Regions from separate parts of the Homo sapiens genome. Here all the other regions are linked to region 1. The links are contacts of gene promoters, found by promoter capture Hi-C in human tissues and cell types (Jung and others, 2019). All regions are on one chromosome and are shown on one strand. The core of a region is centred on a gene start or on the middle of the fragment in contact, and the rest is flanking DNA. Distances in the headings are between cores, read along the strand shown.

Region 1 (5,010 bases), core at 403-2,902:
ATAGTTAATTCTCAACACTTCTATCAAGGGAACTCTCACTTGTGGAAAGAGCAGAGCTGCAAAGCTCAAGAGGCTCACGGCTTGCTTGAGGTCTCAGAGACAGGGATGGAGGACTCAAGACTCCAATCTGTGTCTTTATCCCAAGTGCGTCATATGCTTCTTTTTTTTTTTGAGACAGAGTTTCGCTTTTGTCATCCAGGCTGGAGTGCAAGGCCAAATCTCGGCTCACTGCAACCTCCACCTCCCAGGTTCAAGCGATTCTCCTGCCTCAGCCTCCCAAGTAGCTGGATTAGAGGTGTGTACCACCACGCCTGGCTAATTTTGTATTTTTAGTAGAGACTGGGTTTCACCCTGTTGGTCAGGCTGGTCTCAAACTCTTGACCTCAAGTGATCCACCCGCTTCAACCTTCCAAAGTGCTGGGATTACAGGGGTGAGCCACCGCGCCTGGCCTCCGGGGCGTATACTTTTAACCTTCCTATCTGGTGTTGGGAACATGGCACTCAGCTCGCCAAGCTGATGCTGGGAACTTCTCTCTCCCAGCTGCTAACAGAGAATGCCCAGGGGCAGGAAGGACACAGGTCCGCTACCCAGGGACTCTCTACTTCTCCTCCCGCCTCCCTCTCCTCCTCTTGTGTTGCCAAGGGTGGTGTCCCCAGTGAGCTCATTCAGGGAGGCAGGAAGCATGGTGCAGGAAGCCCTAGGTGGGCGCTGTGCGGCTACAGGACACCACTGCCCCTCCCAGGCAGGTGCAGCCAGCTGGCGAGGGACGTCCTCCCAAGTAGGAGCAGAGAAAGCCCAAGCTGTCCCAGGAAGGCCATGGGTTCCCTCCTTGTTCCTAGGAAGTGACCCCCCTTTTCAGGGCAACCAGGACAACAGAGTGTTTTTGGAACATGCTCCTTTCTGTTCTTCTTCCTGGTGCCTCCCCCCAGCTGTAATTAGCATGACTCATAAACCAAATATTCTGGCATTGAACTTTGCTCATCAAAACAAAGATGAAAAGAATTTCATAGATACAGTTGTGCGCAGGGACTGGAGCTTCCCATTTGTGTCTTGTCCTCAGGGGTCCCTGTTCCTGGGCGGGGGGGGGCTGTGGCTGAGGCTCCAGAACCTTAGGGAAGGGGTGGGGGTGACGGACACCAGGAAGGGCAGGAAGAAGTAGCAGGTTACACCATCCCCTGGACGATCCCACCTCTGCCTGACAATCAGTAGCCTCTAGAGATGTTCAAGTGGGGGCACTCCCTCATGGGCCACAGGTTGCCATTTCCCCTGTTAACCTGCTGAAATTGGCCTGCTGGTGTCAAATGGCACAAGGCAGCTCTCTGGACAGGACCCTGCCATCTCCCTGACCCCTTCATACAGGGCAAGAACTCACCTGCCCACTTTAGAGAGCAGTCTGGAAGAAACAGCGACGTCAGCTCAGCTCAACAATGTGTTTCCTTCAGGCTCTCTTGGGGCAGCCCAGCAAGCCGCTCTCATGAGCCAGGGATCCTTGGGGCCCTGTCCTGGGGTCTATGCTGGGGTCCTTGGCCTGGAAGGGCCAGTCCTGAGCTTAAGCAGGGACATGCAGGAGCAGGACATGCTCACTCCTTTCCTCCTTCCCGAGCCCCGCAGTGAGATGCTCCAACTGCTGCCGCTGCAGCCTCTAGTTCTCTGGGAGAGGCATGCGGTGTGAGCAGGAAGGGAGGGGCTTCGGAGCCATGTGGGAAGGATCTTTATCTCTGGGTCCTTGTCAAGGTCACGGCTGTGTGACACTTGTGCTGGGGTGATATGAGTGGCTCTTGGCAAATCAGCACCCCTCCAGCTGCCTGTTCTTGCCTACATTTGATTTCCAGAGCTGGGCTTGGCATCTGAATGTGGTTCAAAGGGGGATGGTCTCCAGCAGGGGCACGGGGACCCCCACAGTCCCCACTGTACACCAGGGCACTGCTATCTTGCCTCTGAGGCCCCCTGGATCTAAGCCGTTCTCCAGCTTCAGATGGGGCTGGCACAGACTGCAGGCCCCTCCCCGGGCCCCCATCCTGTCCAGGACGGCCGTCGGGACGGCTGTGGCCGGGCCGGTGTCTGCCCATCTCCCTGGCTCCTGTAGGAATTTTCCTTGACACGAGACAGAGTAGAGCAGGAGACGGCAGGCAGGGAGGCAGGAGTCGAGGGGAGGAGGAGAAGAGGCAGACAGGCAGGCGGGGCATGGGGAAGTCAAGTTCTTGGTGCCCTGTGCTGGGTCAAATGTTGTTCTTGGCCACGGCTAAAGCCACACTTGGTGGAATGCCCCAAACCCTATGCTTTGGGTTGTACCCATCCCCCTCAGCAAGACATCTGGATAACAGCCACCCTCTGCCCTGGGGAGCAGGGAAGCTGCTGGGAAAGCTGCCAGCCCTGGGTGGGTTCGAGGCAGATGTAGGTCAGAAGGCGGGCAGGGCCCCCTGACTCTGCCCACAGGTTCCTGGGGCCAGTCTTCAGAGCTGGGGACAGAGGTGTGTTCAGAAAACGCTTAGACCCATTCTCCTTGTAAAGAATCTAAAGTGAGAGATGGAAGGATCTGGGTGGGTTAGGGGGTGACCACAGGTCTCTTGCGTCCTCTGGCATTCAGGGGAGCCCCCTCCTCCATGAAAGGATATCAATGAGGGCAAGGCCCATGGTCCTGAGGGTCCTCCCCGTGTGGTGCGTGAACTTAGATTCCTTTGCAACTCAGAGCTCAGGTCTGCTTGTGCCCATTAGAGGGCACTGGTCGGGAGAGAAAAATCATCTGTACCCCAGCACATGGGTCTTTTCCTCCCTTCTTCAGAGCTTGCCAGCATGCTGGTGTCTCTTCACCCTACAAAAGCAGTGCCCTAAAAATGCACATCCGATGGGCCACACTGCCCAAGCCCCTCACATTTTAAGGTGTGTGTGTGTGTGTGTGTGTGTGTGTGCATGCACGCGCGGGTGTTCCTGGTGATCCTGTGCCTAAATCCAAAGGAATTAAACTCCGGTGGTGTATTTTAAGATGCTAGCAGGCTGGCACCAGGGATATCTTAGCACATTGCATCAAGGAAGATGGTTACAGGTTTCCCTGGTACCCCATACCATACCTGGCATGTAGTGGGCACTCGGTAATCCTCTGTTGAATGATGAATGCAAGGGCTCAGCTGCTGGATACAGTCCTCGAAGCCAAAGGCTGCTGCAGCGGTTCCACCTATAAACAAGTAAGCAAATTGGTGGGCACCGTAACCCTGAGCCCAGTGGGCGGGAACGGTCGCTGCACCATGGCTTGGGAGGAGGAGGAGCCTATGCTCTCTGGCATCTTTCTGGCCACCCCTCGGGGTGAAGTGTAATGTGCTTTGCTGTCGGACACACCTAGGTCTAATCTGAGCTCCAGCACCTCCCCACTGTGGAACCTGGGGCAAGCGGCTCCATCGCTCTGAGGCTGTTTGCGCATTCTAAGGATCAGGTATTCTAAGGATTAGGCATTCTAAGGATCAAGCTTTCTAAGGATCAAGCTCAGTGGTGTAGGGAAGGCACCATGGCCAGAGTCTGGCTCTCAGTGGTGGCTTTTCAGGGGTAGCGGGGCTTTGTCAGAAGGAATCTCTGATAAACATTGGGCTACTCCTGGGTCCAGGAACATGCTGGCCATTGCACATCACGCACAGGATGGGCTGCAGGACGGGGCTCCGTTTCCTTCTGTTTCACGGCTGCAGGCCACCGGCCCTACTCAGGCAGCCTCCTTCAACAGCAAGGGCCAAAGACGAACAAAGCCCCTCACTGCTAGGAAACGGGTTCTCTCTGGCTCGCCTAATTCCAGCCTGGATGAAGTGCCACCCTGCTGGGCTCCCTACCACCTGTGCTGTTCCTGGTCCTAACACATCCCATACCATAGCTGCCAGGGACTCTACTGCCCAAGGGAAAGGGCATCTTGTTCCGTTCGTCCCAAGAATCCAGCTCCCTGCTGGGTAGGTAGTAGACACTCAATAAACACCTGTTGAACAAATGAGCAAAAGAGCGTGAGACTTCAGCACTAGGTCAACTTGTATTCCCCGTGGTTCCGCTTGAGCCTCAAACGATGCAATATAACAAGCTCTCTTTTCTCCCCATCCTACTCTTCTATGCATCTAGTCGAGTTTCCTGGAATAAACAAAATGCTCCCTTAGTCCCCAGGGTGGGGCTTATTTGTCATTTTTCTAGTGGAAAATAATGTGTACTTACTGTGAAAAAGGACGTGACTGTTACAGGGGAAAGAAACAGAGAGGCCAAAATAAGAAAATGGTAAGCATCTGTATTTTCATCACCGCAGATAATTGCTGTTGGCAGCCTGGTGGGTGGCCTTTGGGTCTTTGTGGTTTTGTGTGTGTGTGTGTGTGTGTGTGTGTATGTGTATGTGTGTGCCTGTATGTGCGTGTGTTTGGGTCTGCATGTTTTCATTCTGCATTTTCAAAACTCATTACTGCTTTACAAACTTTCTCTCTCTTTCTTCTTTCTTTCTTTTCTTTCTTTCTTTCTTTCTTTCTTTTTCTTTCTTTCTTTCTTTCTTTCTTTCTTTCTTTCTTTCTTTCTTCTTTCTTTCTTTTTCTTTCTTTCCTCTCTTTCTCTCTCTCTTTTCCTTCCTTCCTTTCTTTTTCTTTTCTTTTCTTTTTCTTTTTTGAGACAGAGTCTTGCTATGTTGTCCGGGCTGGAGGGCAGTGGCGTGATCTCAGCTCACTGCAATCTCCATCTCCTGGGTTCAAGCGATTCTCCTGCCTCAGCCTTCCGACTAGCTGGGATTTTAGGCACACGCCACCACACCCAGCTAATTTTTGTACTTTTTAGTAGAGACGGGGTTTTACCATGTTGGTCAGGATGATATTGAACTCCTGACCTCAAGCGATCCGCCTGCCTCGGCCTCCCAGAGTGCTGGGATTACAGGCGTGAGCTACTGTGCCCGGCCCAAACATCTTTCCATGTCAGTAAATATTCACCTATTTACAGAGACGCCTAACTGGTGCTGCTGGCTGATTCTGCTCCCCAGTCCCTCCATATTATTTCTTTTCTTTTCTTTT
Region 2 (4,623 bases), core at 1,517-4,016, 330 kb after region 1:
CTATAATTAGCTCCCTTAATAGAGAATTGCACTTGGTTCGGCGTCAGCTAACAGCGGGCTCCCTTCCCTGGCTGTGGGATTATTAATGGGTGTTATTTTGCTAATAGTCCGCCCCTCTAATGGGGACTCTTCCCACCGGCCTCTCCTCTTTATAGCCCCACACGGGATCATTCTGACTCTCGGATTCCACTTTCTCACCTACTTCCAAGAGGTTTAAAACATGACCGTGTAATCAACTTAACACATTTAACATTTAACACGGGGTTCGGCACTTGTGGGGTCGGGGGTCCCTGTTCAGAGCTGACTCTCCCTAAGAAGAAAGTTCTTCCGAGGAAAGGCATCAAGGCTTTGGCTCTGAACAAGCATGTGAAGCCTGCAGAACGTATCGAGGGCTCTGGGGAGACGTGTTGTTTGCAGAGCAGGCTGACTTCTGTTTTCAGCCACTGGGGCACAACTCCATTGACTTTGCCAGGCAAGCATTTCCTCTCTGCGTGGGATACCCGCCCCCGTTTCCAATGCTTGTACCCAAGCCAAGTGGCCCCGGGCGATGGTGGCAGAGGCAGCTCCCCTCCAGCCTCTCCAGGTCCTGCTGCCTGGGAAGCCACCTGCTCCTGAACCCCTGAGTTCAACGCATGTTAGAAACTAAAAGCTGAATATACCCCAAGCCTGTGAATTAATTGCTTTTTTTTTTTTCCGAAACGGAGTCTTGCTCTGTTGCCCAGGCTGGAGTACAGTGGTTTGATCTCAGCTCACTGCAACCTCCACCTCCCAGGTTCAAGCAATTCTCCTGCCTCAGCCTTCCTAGTAGCTGGGATAACAGGCTCACACCATCATGCTCAGCTAATGTTTTAATTTTTAGTAGAGATGGGATTTCACCATGTTGGCCAGGCTGGTCTTGAACTCCTGACCTCAGGTGATCTACCTGCCTTAGCTTCCCAAAGTGCTAGAATTACAGACGTGAACCACCGTGCCTGGCCGAACTGCTTTTTAGAAATTATGTTTCTTGTAAGTGCAAGGAAAATTCCAGCTCTGCTAAATGTTTGACATCCTTATGTAATATGTGACTTAGGTAATTTCCATAGTCTGACATCTGGCTCACTCCTAACTCCAAATATCACTGCGTCTGTATAAACTCTTTCCCCTCTCCTGAATTAGAGCATGAATGTGGGGATGTGCTTTGGGGCGTTCACCCCAACTGAAGTCTAAGCTCAAGTGTTCTTGGCTCTTGACTTTTGGCAAGAACTTGAGCTGACGTCGGTCCTGCCTGCTGCCTGAATGTTCCTGCTTGTGAAACTTGGAGAGGCATGTTCTCCCAGGAGCAGGACATACTTGCAGACCCTCCTGCAGACGGGGTGGGGGAGAGAGGAGGCACTTGATCCCACCTGGGCAATGCCAAGGTACCTCTGCCGTGAGGCACGTACTTTTTCACTTTTAAAACAGGGAAGTTTTTTTTTTTTTTTTTTTTTTTTTTTTTTTTTTTTTTGAGGAGGAGTCTCACTCTGTCACCCAGGCTAGAGTGCTGTGGCACAATCTTGGCTTACTGCAAGCTCCACCTCCCAGGTTCAAGCGATTCTCCTGCCTCAGCCTCCCAGGTAGCTGGGATTACAGGTGCCTGACACCATGTCCAGCTAATTTTTGTATTTTTATTAGAGGCAGGGTTTCACCATGTTGGCCAGGCTGGTCTTGAACTCCTGACCTCAGGTGACCCACCCACCTTGGCCTCCCAAAGTGCTAGGATTACAGGCATGAGCCACTGTGCCCAGCCAGTTTTGATTTTTTTTTTTATGCCATCAGAGAAGGACATAATTTAGTGATAGGTGTGAATAACTATTTGGGAAATAATTTCTTTCCTAAAATATGTCCAGAGAGAGACCAAAGGTAAGAATTTGTTGGGAAGAATCATGAAAAGTCAGTTTTCACCTTGCAGTTACAAAGGTGTCAAAAGTGCAGCCGGGCCTGCCTGGGCCAGCCACTGCCCCTGCTGCAACTCCGTCCCCCTCAGCCAGCTCCTGTCGGGCTGAGCCTCCCAGTGGCACTGAGATGGGACACTTGGCTACCCACCTCTTGCTTGAGAAGCTATGTCCTAAAGTGTCCCCCTGAGCACTCACAACAGAGACTCGGCAGTGACAACTGGGGAGCCGGTGCCCTCCATGTGGCATTCCTGCTCTGTCCTAGCCCCACGGGGGCCCCAGACACGCCCACACCCGCTGGTGACAAACTCGGCCTCCCCGGGTGCTGTGGCTGCTGCTCTTGCACACACATCCTAAAACGCAAACACAAGCAGGCTGTACGCACATGTAGAGTGTCTGTGCTTGCACATGAGCACACTCGCCTTTAAGCAGAAAGAGCGCCACTTGTAAGCTGCCCAAAAACGAAACAAAACAAACACTAGCCAGGAGCAAAAGTAAAGCTTCATTCCAATGTTTAAAAAACTCTGAAAGAGGCTGGGAGCTGTGGTTCACGCCTGTAATCCCAGTACTTTGGGAGGCCAAGGCAGGTGAATCACCTGAGGTCAGGAGCTTGAGACTTGCCTGGTCAACATGGTGAAACCCTGTCTCTATTAAAAATATAAAAAAAATTAGCTGGGTGTGGTGGCGCACGCCTGTAGTCCCAGCTACTTGGGAGGCTGAGGCAGGAGGATCACTTGAACCCAGGAGGTGGAGGTTGCAGTGAGCCGAGATTGCACCACTGCACTCCAGCCTGGGCGACAGAGCAAAACTCTGTCTCAAAACAAACAAACAAACAAAAAACAAACTCTGAAAGACGACTTCACTCCTCATGCTAAATGAAAAGGCAAGAGTTTAAAGCGCAGGGGGGCGGTATAGGGGGGTGGTGAAGAATGAAGTGCGTTTGTTGAATTTGTAAAAAGACAGAGAAATATTTTGTTACCTCAAGGGTGTTTTTTTTTTATTTACTGCTTTCCAAGTCAATACAAATGTTTACCAATTAAGTTCATTTTTTTAAAAAATCAGTAAATTGAAGTTTTTTTTTTACTTTAGTATTTAAGTAACTTCCACTTACCAGATCCCAAACAAGCTATTATTATTATTATTATATATTATTATTATTGACAGCATCTTGCTCTGTCACTGGAGTACAGTGGCACATTCATAGCTCATCATAACCCTGGGCTCCTGGGCTCAAGCAACCCTCCTGTCTCAGCCTCCCAAGTGGCTGGGACCACAGGCACACACCACCAGCCTAGCTAATTTTTATATTTTTTGTAGAGACAGGGTCCACCTATGTTGCCCAAGCTGGTCTCAAACACCTGGATTCAAGAGATCCTCCTGCCTTGGCCTCCCAAAGTGCTGGGATTACAGGTGTGACCAGTGTGCCTGGCCCCAAAGAAGCTATTTTTCATCCCTCTGGGACCTAACAACAGGCACAAGGGGGAAGGTAGTGAGCTAGAGCCGTCTTCCCCTCCCCAGCACTGGCGAGGATGCTCACGCCGTGGGGAGACCCCACCATCGGCACACTGCCCTCCCTTCTGACTCAGGCAAAATCCCACCTCCTCCATGAAACCCCTCAAGTCTACACTTCCTCTCATTTTTCTTTTCTTTCTTTTTCTCTTTTTTGAAATGGAGTTCTGCCCTGTCACTCAGGCTGGAGTGCAGTGGCATGATCTCGGCTTGCTGCAACCTCTACCTCCCGGGTTCAAGCAATTCCATTGCCTCAGTCAACCTAGTAGCTGGGATTACAGGTGTGCACCATCACGCCTGGCTAATTTTTGTATTTTTAGTAGAGAAGGGGTTTCACCATGTTGGCCAGGCTGGTCTCGAACTCCTGACCTCAGGTGATCTGCCTGTCTTGGCCTCCCAAAGTGCTGGGATTACAGGTGTGAGCCTCCGTGCTCGGCCTGGTTCTCTCTCTTTTCTGAGTTATAGTCACAGGCAGTGTTTCCAACACAGGGTGTGGCCATTCCATTTCGCCATCAGGATCCCTGGGTTTCTCATGTGTATCAGCTCTACCTTCCTGCCAATTGCTCGAGAGCCACTTGGGAACCAGAACAAAGTATCCTTCCCTCTTTTCCCAAGTGCCCCCAGAGGGCTCGCGCAGAGCAGACACCACGAGTGGCACAGGGAAGCTGCCCCCTGCCCCACACCCAGCCCAGGGAGGCACAGAGCACTGGAAACTTCCATGGGTGGGTTTGCACCAGGCCAGGTGTATCCATCAACACATCCTGTAATCCTCTCTACAACTGTATTTTATGAGTGAGGAAGTAAGATTCAAATGGGTTAGACGGATTTAAACGTATCCCTAATCCACCTCTTAATGACCCCACAGGCTCAGGGCAAGAGCTGAGGGGCTTGGCTGACTGCAGCGCCTACCCCGCCCCTCCCCAGGGCTGCCAGTGTTAGCAAAGAAAAATACAGGATATGCAGCTTAATTTGAGTTTCAGATAAACAACAAATAATTTGTAGTACTAGTCTATCTCAAATATGGCATGGAACATATTTACACTAAACACTATTCATTGTTAATCTGAAATTCAGATTTAACTGAGCAGCCTTTATTTTATCTAGCAAGCTACTCTCCACATCCTCCCCCACAAATTCCAAAGAGCATATTTTGCTGAAGGTGAGGCATAGCCTTCGAAGGAAGGGCACGGCACCTGCCTCCCCG
Region 3 (4,746 bases), core at 952-3,451, 260 kb after region 1:
AGTTCAACTCTAAATGTAATGAGTTGGAAGAACAGCTCTCTGGTGGCTTTCTGTAGTGAACATGACATCAATAACATTGATTGCTAAAAATAACTAATAACACTGGGCTATAACTAATAACACTGGGTGGCCAGGGACTGCTCCAACCCTACCCCTAAAATGGATGAAAGGGAAACAGGCCCTTGCCTCCAAACAGACACACCTCCAACAGGTGAGTTCCCAGAGGGTTCAGACAGAAGGTGGAGGAGAAGCAAGATGCCCAGGGGGTCTGAAGGGGTGAGCAGAAGTTTTTCAGGCACTGGAAGCTCCTTGGAGGGCAGGCAGGTGGTGGGAGACAAGCACATGCTGTAGGGGGGTCCTCACATACCAGTGTGAGACACACATGTCTGGAAGGGGAACCTTCTCAAGCTGGAGGAGGCATCATAGAGCCTTGTGAAGGAGGCCTCTTGGGAGGCCCATGAAGATGGCAAAGGAAAAGGGAAGGAAGGAATGAGAGGCAGGATGGCTCGTGGCTAGGAATGCAGGCTCTGGGGTGAGCCAGCTGGGTTGGAGTCCTTGCTAGCTGTGTGGGCCCGGGTAAGCCATCGAGCCTCTAAGGGCCTCATTTTCCCCATCTGGAAAGTAGAGATTCGTGATTTTCCATATGCTGTGACGGTGTCATGGGCTTCCCATGAGGACCCGAAAGCACAGCCTATGTGTGGCTCTTCGCCTCATGCCTGGTGCCTGGGAAGTGGTTCAACACATGCCTGCCGTTGCCACGTCCCTTCTCGGTATAGCCAAGGGAAGGGCTCTGAGAGCTAGCAGTTAGCAAATGGAGTCTGAGGTTGACCCACGTGACCCTTGCTAAGGGCCTTCTGAGGTCAGGCCCGAGGGAAATAAATGATATTTAGGATGAATGTTTACCAAAATCAGAGAAGCAATCATTTCTGACAAGGCAGACGGACAGGCATAGTTACATACATCTCATCGAGCCTCCAGAGGCTTCTCCTCTGGGTTTGCTGACTGGTGGCTGGAGAGGCTCTACCTTACACACAAAATCAATTCTTCCATGCCCTCAGCCCTGGCCACTCTGCCCTTGACACCCTGGCTGCGTTCTCCCAGAAATAGCTGTGTGCTTGGATTGGAATCTGCTGGGGCGAGGGGCAGCTGCAGCAGGCAGCTCAGCTCAGCTCAGCCTGCGTGGCTCTCTGCCTTTCTGGAAGGATTAGCTTGCCTAACCTCTCCCAGTGCTTCCCACCCCTCTCCTGGGACTTTGGGAGAGGAAAGGCAAATGAAAGGTGTGGTGTTGGGGGCTGGAGGAAAGAAAGACCATGATAAAATGCCAGCCTGCAGTTGAGGAAGAAAGTTATTTAGTGGGTCAAAAATGAGTCAAAGTTTATAGAGAAGAAATGACATGTTTTAAAATTAATAGCATAAATGTCAACTCTGATGGCCAGGGCATTAAACCATAGGATCAATGGAGCATTCTTTGTGAGGTTATTTTCTCTCTCAGATGTGCCCTGGGTGTGGGGAAAAGAGCGAGAGCTCGCTCTGCGGTGCCACATTTTGGATTCTGGGGTAGCTCCATCAGCTAGGTTACAGTGTGAGAGATAAGAAAGTTGCTATGAGGCTGTGTTCAGTTGGCTGGTCTGCATGGAGCTGACATTAAATACAGTAGGAATCTGCAGCCCTCGGCTTCAAGTGTGGGGATTTATTGAAGTCTTGCAAAAGCTCTTGGTCAGGGATGCTCCTCCCCTGGGCAGGAAGAATGGGGCTGAGGGCACACTCAGAACCCTGTGTCATGCATCCACCCCTTGAGCCTCACAGTCCCTTATTGCATCAGTAACAGGGTCTGCAGAGCCGGAATGGCTCACTGCCCAGGGAGGCAGGACCAAACAGGGAGTTTTCTCTGAAGTCTGCCTTGATCTCTGTTCTCAGGGACAGGCAGCAGTGTGGAAGAGCCCCTGCGTTCACAGAACACAGAGAGTACACAGCCCCTCTCCCCTGGCAACTCTTGGAGCCTTTCTAGATGACCTCATGTGGTTCCCCTCTGTTCAGGAGCAAGCAAGGGAACTACCTTTGCAGGTTGGCTATGAGAAACTAGGGCGCCACATGATTTAGCTAATTCCAACACAAAAGCTTCACCACGGAGCTGAACCTTGAATTTCACAACGCCCAAGTCTCAATCCTGGGTTGGAGGCATGGGTTTAACTACAGCCAGCCTCCACCCCTACTTAGATGCTGTAGCTTAGGACCCCCAAAGCCAGCCACGGAGCTCTCTCACCAATTTACCCCACCCCTCATTCCAGGGCTTTCTCTGGTGATCAGTATTTTGGGGTTGCTCTGAATTACTATGAATCTTCCAGTAATCATATTGTGGTAATAGAGGGGTTGCCTGAAAACCACAGGAAGCCAGGAGATGCCTGGTGCCAGGACACTTCACAGGACCTGAAGAACAGCTTCAGGTGAGGACTAAGAGCAAAACCAGGGTAAGGAAGGGCAGAGAAAATCCCACTCGTGTGCATCTTCACAGACCCCACGAGTGTCAGGACCCCGCATGCCTCCAGTATAGAATTTATTCTATTGTGCCTTCCTTGTCTCCCCACTAACCAAGAGCAACCAGGGGACCAGTGCTGTCTCCCCACTAACCAAGAGCAACCAGGGGACAAGGGGACTGTGGCACCAGTCACTAGCATGTCCCCGGCACATGGAAGGTTCTCAATGAATACTGGTTGAAAAAAGGAATTAAAATGTTAGTCTATAATGGAACATGTTTACACTCACACTTACAGTTGGCACTGTACACACACACACACACATGCACACACACACACACGCACACACACACACACATACATGCAGACCCAGTGCACTGCCCTTAGAAGTGTTTGATGCTGCGAAGGACAGCATGGGCTGCTTTCGCTGTGTAATGAGGGAACAGCAGTATGCCAAATGCTTAGAAGAGATCCTTTTGCTTTCTTTCCTCCGCTCAATTCTGCCGCTAGAGACCCTACTGTTGTATTCTGATTTCACCAACATGAAACTGCATTTGGGGGAAAAAATCACCCATTCCCTTTATATTAGGAAAGTAAGAAGCAAACAGACTTCGTTTTGGAATTTGGCCTTTGTTTTGGGAGTTGGTATAAAAGACAATTCCTCCCTGGAGGTTTTGCTTTGGTTTTATGGGGTTTTTATACCTGCCCCCACCTTCCATCCCCCTTGAAAAGAGGCCCCTGAAGAGTTTGCTTGGCTGGAACATCACAGACCAAAGTCTGAGAACTGCTTCTATTTTACAGTGCCACTGTTAGTAATGCCTCATATGTATATTATATTTCATAGTTTTTCAAAGCCACTTAAAAGTATGGCCTCATTTGACCCTTCCATCAGACCTAGATGGTCAACAGAGCACATCTCATTATCTCCGTTTAACAGGTAAGAAAACTGAGAATTTAGAGGGTAAAGTGACCTGCTCAAGCCCACATGGGGCCAACAAAAATGTTCCAAGTTACTCATCTGCTGCTCACATCAAGACCGATCTTTGCTTCCTTCCTTCCTTCTTTCCTTCCCTGCCTCCCTCCCTTCCTTCCCTGCCTCCCTCCCCTCCCCCTCCCTCCCCTCCCTTTCCTTTCCCTTCCCTCCCCTCCACCCCTTCCTTCCTTCCTTCCTTCCTTCCTTCCTTCCTTCCTTCCTTCCTTCCTTCCTTCCCTTCCTTCCTGTCTCACTCTGTCTCCCAGGCTGGAGTGCAGTGGCACAATCTTGGCTCATTGCAACCTCCACCTTCTGGGTTCAAGTGATTCTCCTGCCTCAGCCTCCTGAGTAGCTGGGATTACAGACTTGCACCACCATGCCTGGCTAATTTTTGTATTTTTAGTAGAGACGGGGTTTCACCATGTTGGCTGGGCTGGTCTCGAACTCCTGGCCTCAGGTGATCTGCCTGCCTTGGCCTCCCAAAGTGCTGGGATTACAGGCATGAGCCACTTGCCCAGCCTGAGCCATTCTTGCTTTAGATAACCTGCTGCTTTGGGGGCTGACAGATAAGCAGGAAGGCTGCCCTGTAGCAGCGGCAAGGTCCACAAATAAGCCAGATGAAGGAGAAGAGAAATATAGGGAGGCTGTCAGGGACTCATTCTGGTTAGGATTTAAGCCCCAGCTGCTATTACAGGATGGAGAGATGAAACAGGGCCGAGAAAGAGCCTCGGCCAGCATGGGGTCAACTAGGGCAGGGGAAGCAATGACATAGTCTCACAGAGTCACCTGTCCGACTTCCAGAGCAGGTACAGATTCATACAGAGCAGGTGCAGATTCATACTGCAGCCTACTATGCTCTTCAACTGGGGCCACCTGCTTGCCTTACAGAGTCAGAAAAGCAAAGTGAACCAGTTTTCTATTCCTCTCCAACAAGCCGCTGCTCTTCCCTAACAGTTTATCTGCACTTAAGATCCCTCAGCAGAATCCTGGACTGGAGAGCAAGTTCGTCAGATTAGATGGGGCATACCTTTCACCCAGTTCTAGCCTTGAGTGTCTGTGCCGGACTCCGGTAGCAGACACCTTTTGCTTTTTTTTTGTGGATGGAGTCTCACTTTGTCTCCCAGGATGGAGTACAGTGGTGTGATCTCTGCTCACTGCAACCTCCATCTTCCGGGCTCAAGTCATTCTCTTGCCTCAGCCTCCCGAGTAGCTGGGACTTCAGGCGCCTGCCACCACGCCCAGCTAATTTTTTGTATTTTCAGTAGAGATAGGGTTTCACCATTTTGGCCAGACTGGTCT
Region 4 (4,410 bases), core at 460-2,959, 290 kb after region 1:
AGTCAGAGGGGACGTGAAAAGAGCCACCTCTCCCATCCCCCGACAGATGGGACCCGCAGGGGTAGGGGAAGAGCGGTGTCTCCCAGGCCGCGCCTTCACACTTGCTGGCCACTGCGGCCAGACAGATGTGCACCCTGGTCCTTGCTTTGATCTCACACGGTTACACTTTCAGTGTTACAAGCTCATAAAAGCCACGTGATCAAATTCCAGGTCATTACTCAAGGAAAGGGACCCCTCTGTGGTCGACAGCGACAGTTTCAAACCAATTAAAATAAGCCTGGCGTTTCTGCGGGCTGCCGCCCGTGCCGCCACCCTGGGGGTCTCTGAGGGCCTTGCTTGCAATGAGCAAGATGCAGGAAATGTTAATGGAGACGCTTAAATGGCGCGCCGAGGGGATTCTGGTAAATAAGGCCACGCGGAAGGGGCTGGGGAGAGGCCTCCCGAGCTAACCCTGGAGGAAACTTCAATAAACACGAGATTGGATTGGAAACAATTCACTCCGCAAGGGGTGGGTCCGCCAGCAGCTCTGGGAGGGGTCTTTGGGGGAGGAAAGCTATTTCATTCCCTATTAGTTCCCCTTTGCAAGTATCTGTGCCCCCTGCTGCTGGCACTGGAATCTGCCAAGGCTCGACAGCACCCACTGAGCAGGCTGGGAGCACCAGGGTATAATTTGCCAAGTAAAAATTGGAGAGGGCGGGAGAGGCTGCGCGGAAGAGGAGAAGGGGTGGCTGGTGATGGTGGAGGGTGGAGGGGCTGGGGCTGAGGACGAGGCCATGCAGTGGCTTTGTGACTGTCTGGCAGGTGCTCTGAACTCTGCAGGATCCTGTTTCGGGAAGATCGAACGTCACCCATGAAACAAACAGAGAAGTTTCCAGAGAACACCACCCCAAGCCCAGGCCAGCATGTAGATGGGGCCAGGCCAGCAGGCTGTGGTCGGTGCTGTCCAGCTCAGTACAGACTCAGGGCCCACCTGAGTTGTGGGCAGCCCTCCTTGGGCAGGGGCGATGGCTCCCACCTCTGCTCCCAGCCAGGGACTGTTACTCAGGATGTGGGCAGCTCGTCGCTCTGCTCAATGCAATGGAAGGAGCTCCAAACGTGAGAAAGGGAAGGGAGGTCTTGAGCAAAATGAGGAGCCTGGGCCACACAGCCTGTGTCCTTCCTCCCAGAGCCCCTCCCCACAAGGCCACCACGGCCCCAGACCCCTGCACATCTGCTTTTGTGGGCCTAATCTTACAGCCGAAATAGCAAACCTCATTCCAGTGACAGTTTCCACATTTAGGAAATAAAACCCCTGGATATGCAGTTAAATTAGAAATTTCAGATAACAGATAATGTTTTCATTGTTTTAGTATAAGTTCATACCATGCAATATTTGGGAAGTACTTATATTAATTTTTCATTGCTTATCTGATATTCACATTTAACCAGTCACCCTGTGTTTTTATTTGGCAGCCCTAGCTTCCAACTGCCTGATTACCCAGGCTAAACACACACAGGTGCACATATGCCTGCACACAAGATATGCACACTCACCCGCAAATGTGCATGTGCACGCACACACACAGATGTGCACGGACACGTGCACATACACATCCTTCAAAGAAAGGAGCTGACCCTCCATGAAGACCGACAAGGAGCTGGCATTTCCCATATGCTCCCTCATGGAACACTCCTCCCATCTCCCCCACGGCCACCCCCCTCATTCAGACAAAGAGGTGCAGGCTCCAATTGCCACTTTCTCAAGGCCACACAGTCAGCATATGGCCCGGCTGAAATTGCAGACCCAGTTCATTCGTATTCCAAAGTCTGCACTCTTTCCACCAAACCAGACCCAATACATCAAATTTTAGATGTTTCTTTTCAAACAGAACGGCCATAAGGAAGTTGCTATTGATTCTGCAGTCAGGCCAATGGCCTTGGCTCAGACCCACACGGACCTCAGAACAAAGACGCAGATTTGAGCTGGTGAAGCCCCCACGGGTTCAGCCTCACCAGGGTTCACCTGTGGGGCTCAGGGTGAGCACATCTGGCTTCCACACAGAGGCTGGTGGTTTGGGTCCACCCTGGAGGGTTCTGCTGGCAATTGAGTCCTGAGCAGGCACTGGCAGCAGCACCGATGCCCGTGGCAGGGCCTTCTAGTGAAGGGGATGTTTCTCCCCTGGACGTGGTCTCAAACTCAAAGGGGACAAACACAGACTTGAAATTGTCTGCAAATTGGCAAGGAATCCCTAAACTCTGGCTTCCACTAATTAACTAGCTGCTTTCCAGGTAACTAGTAGGTACTTTAGGCACTTGTTATGTAAGAATCACAATCTTAAAAAAAAAAAAGTTGCAATGTTCGATGAGGCCATGGTGAACCTAAGGGTGCCACCTTGTCTACCTGGGCCATCACTCGGCAGGCAAAGAGATTCGATCTGGCTGGCAAATCTTGTTCTTTATGTGAGCAGGACAATTCTCAAGTAACATGCTAACTTCCCTATCTTGAGTTGTCGGTTTCATGATTATTTTTCTAGGAATGGAAGTTAAGCTTGCCGCTTCATCATTTCTAGAAATGTCTTTACCCCCTTTAAAAAAACTGTCTGTGGATTGGGAAAAACCTCCAGCCCCTTGTTACTCAGGCCTCATCTCCTAAACTGCCTGGCTGCTGCTGACAAAGTTGCTGAGTAGACAGAGCTTACAACTGGGGAGGTGTCAGCCGGAGCCCTTGCCATGGTGATGGCTGATTCCTATCATGAGTGGAACAGGAGCATTTTGGGCCTGAAGATCTGGATGCTCCGGGTGGTGTTTGCTCAGCCAGCAGCCAAGAAGTCCAGCAAGGAGGGAAGAGGAGAAGGAGGTCTGTGTGCTTCACCCAAAACTCCAGCACGGAGGATGCTGCTGAGCCAAAACCCAGGAGATGAAACTGCTGGGGGCAGAGGAGCTGGGGAGGTCTGGGAAATACAAACAGCAGCAAATCTCCCCACTTTATCTTCATAGCCACCACCCCTTACACCATATGGCTCCCCCTCTCAGCAATGCAGTTGAGCAACGGTCTCAGCCATACCATAGTGGTGAGGGTTTCATGATTTGCCTAATGAGAGGTCTTACTGGCAAATTTCATACTAAGAGTTGGATGTTGAAATTTGACTGTGGGGCCACGTGCGGTGGCTCATGCCTGTAATCCCAGCACATTGGGAGGCTGAGGCAGGTGGATCACGAGGTCAGGAGATCTAGACCATCCTGGCTAACACGGCGAAACCCTGTCTCTACTAAAATTACAAAAAAATTAGCTGAGTGTGGTGGTGGGCGCCTGCAGTCCCGGCTACTTGGAAGGCTGAGGCAGGAGAATGGTGTGAACCCGGGAGGCAAAGTTTGCAGTGAGCCGAGATTGCGCCACTGCACTCCAGCCTGGGTGACAGAGCGAGACTCCATCTCAAAAAAAAAAAAAAAAAAAAAAAAAAGGGATGGAGGGAGGGATAGCATTTGGAGATATACCTAATGTTAAATGATGAGTTACTGGGTGCAGCACACCAACATGGCACATGTATACATATGTAACTAACCTGCACGTTGTGCATATGTACCCAAAAACTTAAAGTACAATAATTAAAAAAAAAAAGAAATTTGACTGTGGAAGGAGGGAAGACATGAGGGTGGGCGGAGGGAAAGGAAGCCAGCACCGGATGTGGCTTTCCCGGAGGCAGCCCACTGGAAAAGCGGATTTCATTATAGTCAGGTGGTTGTTTTTTAGGTCACCTACTTCCCAGACGGTTTTTCCTGCTTTTCTTTCCTGTTACAAAGTTTTGACATATTGGAGCCGGGAAGGAAGAAAAGTCGCACTGTATCACCAAGAAGTAGGGGACCCAGGGGCTCAGTGATCCACAGCAGAAAGGAAGAGGCGAGGAAGGTAGGAGATGCAGAGAAAGGAAAGAGGCAGAACGGGGGCTCCTGCAAGTGCGGAGATGAAGCCCTGTCCCAGGAGGTCCCACTTGGGCTGCCGGAGTGGTGATGACCCAGGGCTCGGCCTACTTTCAGCCTGAGAATCCTGAGAGAACCCCCTCCAAGAGCAGCCTGGGCAGATTGGTCTTGTCTGGGCTGCTGGTCTTGTCTGGGCTGCTGGGCTATGTCTGGGCTGCTGGTCTTGTATGGGCTGCTGGGCCAGCTGTTCTTATCCTGGCTGCTGGTCTTGTCCGGGCTGCTGGTCTTGTCTGGGCTGCTGGTCTTGTCTGGGCTGCTGGGCTATGTCTGGGCTGCTGGGCTATATCTGGGCTGCTGGTCTTGTATGGGCTGCTGGGCCAGCTGTTCTTGTCCAGGCTGCTGGTCTTGTCTGGGCTGCTGGTCCTGTCTGGGCTGCTGGTCTATGTCTGGGCTGTTGGTCCTGTCTGGGCTGTTGGTCTTGTCCAGGCTGCTGGTCTTGTCCGGGCTGCTAGT

The links. The method cuts DNA at HindIII sites, captures the fragments that hold promoters and counts their contacts. A contact is called where the count stands out against the background at its distance.
Region 2: a fragment that was not itself captured here is called in contact with the fragment with the promoter of C1QTNF1-AS1 in region 1 in 1 of the 25 tissues and cell types used here (dorsolateral prefrontal cortex).
Region 3: a fragment that was not itself captured here is called in contact with the fragment with the promoter of C1QTNF1-AS1 in region 1 in 2 of the 25 tissues and cell types used here (liver and lymphoblastoid cells).
Region 4: a contact is called between a fragment that was not itself captured here and the fragment with the promoter of C1QTNF1-AS1 in region 1, in 2 of the 25 tissues and cell types used here (mesendoderm cells and thymus).

What each region holds. Positions count from the first base shown.
Region 1 is chr17:79,026,003-79,031,012 of GRCh38, forward strand. C1QTNF1-AS1 (C1QTNF1 antisense RNA 1) reads right to left here and starts at 1,653. Exons shown (of 3, transcript NR_040019.1): 1 at 1,374-1,653. All of the region lies in intron 1 of C1QTNF1 (C1q and TNF related 1), which reads left to right. The HindIII fragment of the contact is 4,721 bases long and covers 1,631-5,010 here.
Region 2 is chr17:79,354,904-79,359,526 of GRCh38, forward strand. The region is part of intron 2 of RBFOX3 (RNA binding fox-1 homolog 3); the gene reads right to left. Among named protein-coding and RNA genes, the nearest start is that of RBFOX3, 250 kb to the right of the region's middle. The HindIII fragment of the contact is 4,584 bases long and covers 475-4,623 here.
Region 3 is chr17:79,289,785-79,294,530 of GRCh38, forward strand. All of the region lies in intron 3 of RBFOX3 (RNA binding fox-1 homolog 3), which reads right to left. Among named protein-coding and RNA genes, the nearest start is that of ENGASE, 220 kb to the left of the region's middle. The HindIII fragment of the contact is 8,478 bases long and covers 1-4,746 here.
Region 4 is chr17:79,315,441-79,319,850 of GRCh38, forward strand. The region is part of intron 2 of RBFOX3 (RNA binding fox-1 homolog 3); the gene reads right to left. Among named protein-coding and RNA genes, the nearest start is that of ENGASE, 240 kb to the left of the region's middle. The HindIII fragment of the contact is 6,078 bases long and covers 1-4,410 here.